2 separate regions of the Homo sapiens genome follow, and region 1 is linked to region 2. Evidence: promoter capture Hi-C in 16 types of primary human blood cells and fetal thymus (Javierre and others, 2016). All regions are on one chromosome and are shown on one strand. The core of a region is centred on a gene start or on the middle of the fragment in contact, and the rest is flanking DNA. Distances in the headings are between cores, read along the strand shown.

The links. Contacts are between HindIII fragments. The CHiCAGO score rates a contact against its expected background, and 5 or more counts as called.
Region 1: a fragment that was not itself captured here is called in contact with the fragment with the promoter of HS3ST2 in region 2 in 4 of 17 cell types (endothelial precursors, erythroblasts, M0 macrophages and 1 more); the score reaches 11.9 in endothelial precursors.

The regions. Positions count from the first base shown.
Region 1 is chr16:21,564,659-21,567,358 of GRCh38, forward strand. No RefSeq gene overlaps it. Among named protein-coding and RNA genes, the nearest start is that of METTL9, 34 kb to the right of the region's middle. The HindIII fragment of the contact is 1,772 bases long and covers 423-2,194 here.
Region 2 is chr16:22,812,829-22,815,528 of GRCh38, forward strand. HS3ST2 (heparan sulfate-glucosamine 3-sulfotransferase 2) reads left to right here and starts at 1,334. Exons shown (of 2, transcript NM_006043.2): 1 at 1,334-2,267. The coding sequence starts at 1,783. LOC107984851 (collagen alpha-1(XVI) chain) reads right to left here and starts at 2,031. Exons shown (of 4, transcript XR_001752349.2): 1 at 1,879-2,031; 2 at 159-436. The HindIII fragment of the contact is 5,471 bases long and covers 1-2,700 here.

The DNA.
Region 1 (2,700 bases), core at 59-2,558, 1.2 Mb before region 2:
GTTGAGCATAGTGGCTCAGTGCCTGTAATCCCAGCACTTTGGGAGGCCGAGGTAGGCAGATCATTTGAGCCTAGGAGTTCAAGACCAGCCTGGGAAACATGGCAAAATCCCATCTCTACAAAAAATAGAAAAATTAGCTGGGCATTGTGGCATGCATCTGTAGTCCCAGCTACTTGTGGGGCTGATGCAGGAGGGTCACTTGAGCCCAGGAGGCAGAGGTTGCAGTGAAGTATGATTATGCCACTGCACTCCAGCCTAGGTGGCAGAGTGAGACTCTGTCTCAAAAAAAAAAAAAAAAAAAAGAAGATTGTGAGCAAAAATTGAATGCAATTTTTTTCATAAGCAGAGGTGTAATGGTTATTATTACAAAAGATGATATTAAATTTATTTATGTATTATCTCTTTGCCTCCACCAGAATGTAAGCTTTGTTGAAGGCAAGGATCATTGTTGATTTATTTACTCTGTATCCCAGGCATCTAAAACAGTAAGTGTGCAATAAATATTTGTTGAATGAATCAAAGCATAAGCAAGGCTTCAGATTCATTTTTCTATCAGAGATTCATTTAAAAATGTTAAGGAAATGAGAGGTGAAGACATCCTAAAGGCATAATACTCAAAGTAGTCAGTAGGTTCATTGATAACCCAGAGGAAAATATATAATATTATAGAGGAAAAGAAATTCTCTGAAATCATGGCATCTCTCCTAGCTTGGGATAACATTTTAGCAGAAAGACCGAAGAACTCTTCCAAGAAACATCAAGCAATTAAATGAAGTAGTAGAAAAATCACCAGTACTTTAAAGTAGATGAAGCCATTAAAATAGTTGCAGCTTCAGTAATCACCATGTAAGCCTGTAAGTGGTGGGTCTTAGACCACAACATGGTAGTTATCAAATTGCTTTATTCATCGAAATGTTCATTCTCCTGGCTGCCCTTGAACTTCCAGCCTAAGGCTTTCTCTCTGCAGGGTTGTCAGCATGCTCATGCAAGGCTTTGCCTCTGCAGATTATCAGAGGTGTACTCCATGCCCCTCTCACCATGAAAAAAGGGAGAAAAAGACAATTTCGTCTCAGAGATAGAAAATCTCCCAGAGAGAACCCCTGGCAGCTGGAATCCATTTTTTTCCCCCTGAAGCTGGAATCTGTTATAACTACAGAACACTGAAGGATAATGAGGTTCTGCTGCTAAGCAAATGCTGGGACAAAAAGCACAGAGGTGCTGCAGCCAGGCAGAGACTGGGCTTTTCATGAAACCCTGTGTCTCTGAGCACATATTGCAATAATTCTCTGACTAGCTGCTCAAGGCCTTGGCTTCGTGGCTTTTTACTCCGTTTAAAGGTCTTGATCAGGCCACTTCCGTTTTTAATGTTTGAGAAATGTCTGATTTATGCTGCTTCAAAGTGGAACTTGGGTTTCTATTACCTTTTTGGCACCTTGCACCCATTGTTGGCCTAATTCTGCTGTCTCGTCTATCTTGTGGTTCCTATCAGTAAACAAAGTCCAGGAGAGGCGTCATGCTTGTGAACACCTCCAACATCAAGTTCAAAAGTACAATCATGACCTTGTCCTGTCGTTCTCAGAATCTGGGCTCAGCTATTTCAAACCTCCCATGTCTTCACTGGTAGTGGTCAATTAGAAATCACTGAATCCTTTCCCTAGAGTGGTCAGAGACAGCCAGTTTATGGTAATTTGGGCACAAGTGCCAATTGGAAAGGTGCATTATTCAAACCACTTTGGCTACAAGTGACAGAAATTCAATGCAGGTTAGCTTAAATAAAAAAGGAATTCGGGCTGGGAACAGTGGCTCATGCCTATAATCCCAGCATTTTGGGAGGCCGAGGCGGGTGGATCACCTAAGGTCAGAAGTTCTAAACCAGCCCGGGCAACACGGTGAAACCCTGCCTGTACTATAAATACAAAAAATTAGCCAGGCATGGTAGTGCACGCCTGTAGTCCCAGCTACTCTGGAGGCTGAGGCAGAAGAATCACTTGAACCCGGGAGGTGGAAGTTGCAGTGAGCCAAGATCACGCCACTGTACTCCAGCCTGGGCGACAGTGAGACTCTGTCTCAAAAAAAAAGAAAAAAAGAAAAAAAAGGGAATTTATTGGCTTCTGTAGCTGAAAAGTCAGGCAGATTTGGATCTCAAATTATGTCATTAACTAGTTTCTCTGACTTACCCTCTGCGTTGTGTATAAGCTTTTCATCGCATGGCAGCAAGATACCTCCATGTTCACATAGGGCTAACAGCCCAAGATGGTGAGGAAACATGCACTTTTGTTCCAGTAGCACAGAAAAAGTCCCCAGGTGGACGCTAATGGGCACTGTATGAGTCAAGTGCTCATGGCTGAGGCAGTAGTTGTACCTTGACACATGAAGTCCTCTGACCAGATCTGGGCATGTACCTGACCTTGGGGATGGAAGTGAGGCAGTCCAGCTCCACCAACTCGTAAGGACTGAGACAGTTTACTAGGGAAGAGGGGAAAGCGTGTTTCTTACAGGAAGAAATGCGGGCAGACAAAACACCATATACCCCTTAAATTAGGTTTTCCACAGATAATTGAGGTGGAGCAGAAGGGTAACCACATTTTGACAGCATCATCAGTATGTGGTGAGTGGCCCAGCATTTGACCCTGGCCTCTGTGGTCATCTCAGAGCCCAGAAAGTAGCAGCAGAAGAGCAGAGCATGGGTAGGTAACCATC
Region 2 (2,700 bases), core at 84-2,583:
GTTTGGGGACAAAATATTTTCTGGTTTGGGCTAAGATCCACAGAACCTAATGATCAGTTTACAGCCTGAGGAAGGAAGTCAGTTATACCCTGATCAGGGTGGGGGTCATGGTGGTCATCTAGACATTCTATGGCTGGGTGGTGGTGGAGGGCACTCACCTTGTGAACACTCGGACATGGTGAATTGGCATTGGCATTGCTGTTGAAGGACAACTCAGCCGTGTTCTTAGCCATGGCCATTTAGGCCTGTTCTGATGCAGGGTTCTGATCCAAGGTACCAGTGTGGTCCCTCAGGGAAGTACTGGGGATCGTCACTTATGCCTGTTCTGGACATGGTCACCGAGAACTGTCCTGTAGGCATTCACTTAGGAATCATTCGAAGTGGAATTGCTCCTGGATACGTTCTCCTTGTACTCTGTTTCCTCCTCCTAGTGTCTCTGTGTGAAGAAGCCCTCCTCACTCAGCCCTCGGCGACCCTCTGGTACCCTGGACAGCTCCCCGGGGAGCAGTCTACCGCTAGGCGGCGGCTGCTAAGAGAGGAACCCTCCTGACGCGGAGTCTGCCGCTCCGGGGCTCGCTCTCCGGCAGGCCCGGGGAGAGGTGGGGTGACAATGGGTTGGGGTGCGCGCGTGCCTCATAGGTGCGAGACAGAGCGAGCCGCCGGGGTGTGAGTCAGCGCGCTGGGGGCTAAGAAGCTGGGTGAATAGTCACGGAATCTCACTCACGCTCGGCTCCTCCACCCATCCCGTCTACAGCGCGTGTCCCAGTCCAGGGCGTGCGTGCGCTCGGTGTCCGATTCCGGGCTGTGTGTGTCCATTTGGCGAGATGTCGAGAGCGGGGGGAGTGTCCTTGTCGGTGTATCTGGGCCCAGGTTAGGGGACTTCTCCTCCCCACCCCCGCGTGGGTGTGGGGGTGTGTCCGGGCTAGGGCGCGTGTGCTTCTGTGCCTGTGCGTGCGTGTGCGGGTCAGGGTGGTGGGACCGCGCATCAGGGCAGGGTGCCTGCGTCTGCGTCTGGGTCTGTCTGGTCTGCATGTCGGCGCGATCTCGACCTGGATTCGTGTCCCTGGATGTCGAGAGGCCAGCGTGGTGGGGGTGTCCAGCCTCCCGGAGGAGTACTATGCCTTGACACCTTCGTTTCACCGCCCCAAAGCTGGCCTGGGGCTCCGTAGGGAGTGGCCTGCATGGGGAGGGCCCGCGTGCTGTGTTTCTGGGAGGGGTAAGAGAGTGGGGGCGCAGGGGGCGGGCCAGGTCCCTGGGCGCGGCGCGGGCTCGGGGGACCCGCGCGGCTGACGTCAGGCCACTCCTTAAATAGAGCCGGCAGCGCGCTCCGCTCGGCATTTCCCGAAGAGCCAGATCGCGGCCGGCGCCAGCGCCACCGTCCGGTCCACCCGCCAGCCCGCACAGCCGCGCCGCCGCCGAGCGTTTCGTGAGCGGCGCTCCGAGGATCAGGAATGGGGCTTCGGGCGCTGGGCGCGCTCCGAACCCGGCGCACGTAAGAGCCTGGGAGCGCCCGAGCCGCCCGGCTGCCCGGAGCCCCATCGCCTAGGACCGGGAGATGCTGGAAATGCAACCGCCTGTTCCCCGAGGAGCCGCTGCCCCCGGGACCCCCTGGCACTGTGCGCACCCTGGTCAGCAGCCCCCGGAGAAGACGGCGCCCCCAACGCCCGACCCGCGTGGCCGTGGCAGCGCCACGCGAGCCCTCTAGGCGACCGCAGGGCCACAGCAGCTCAGCCGCCGGTGCCCCCTCGGAAACCATGACCCCCGGCGCGGGCCCATGGAGCCATGGCCTATAGGGTCCTGGGCCGCGCGGGGCCACCTCAGCCGCGGAGGGCGCGCAGGCTGCTCTTCGCCTTCACGCTCTCGCTCTCCTGCACTTACCTGTGTTACAGCTTCCTGTGCTGCTGCGACGACCTGGGTCGGAGCCGCCTCCTCGGCGCGCCTCGCTGCCTCCGCGGCCCCAGCGCGGGCGGCCAGAAACTTCTCCAGAAGTCCCGCCCCTGTGATCCCTCCGGGCCGACGCCCAGCGAGCCCAGCGCTCCCAGCGCGCCCGCCGCCGCCGTGCCCGCCCCTCGCCTCTCCGGTTCCAACCACTCCGGCTCACCCAAGCTGGGTACCAAGCGGTTGCCCCAAGCCCTCATTGTGGGCGTGAAGAAGGGGGGCACCCGGGCCGTGCTGGAGTTTATCCGAGTACACCCGGACGTGCGGGCCTTGGGCACGGAACCCCACTTCTTTGACAGGAACTACGGCCGCGGGCTGGATTGGTACAGGTAAGGACCAGGAGCTCCGCTCCGTGCGCCGGGTCTCTGATCGCTTCCATTGGGAGAGCCATCCGTCTCTTGTGTTTTCTCTTTCTTTTAACCCAACTCATTGTATGGGTTCAGGCTGACACACAGGGCCATGGGGGGCTATAGCAGAATTTACCCAGAACTTCCCAGTGATAATCTAGACGGGCAGTTTCTGGAACTGCAAAGGGCGTTCCCTCGTCACTGGAGTCGTTGGAAAAGGATTATCTCCAGTCAAACCTAAGTGCCAGCTAAAGGGCTAACTCCCTCTGTGACCAGCCCTTAGGGTGCCCAAGGAAGGGACAGGCGAGGACCTGTGCTGCCTGAACACGGCACCATCCTAACCCTCTGTAGGTCTTTGCTGGTACCCAGCCCCTGAAGGACCCTGAGAAAGATAAGGCAGTTCAGAGACCCCTTG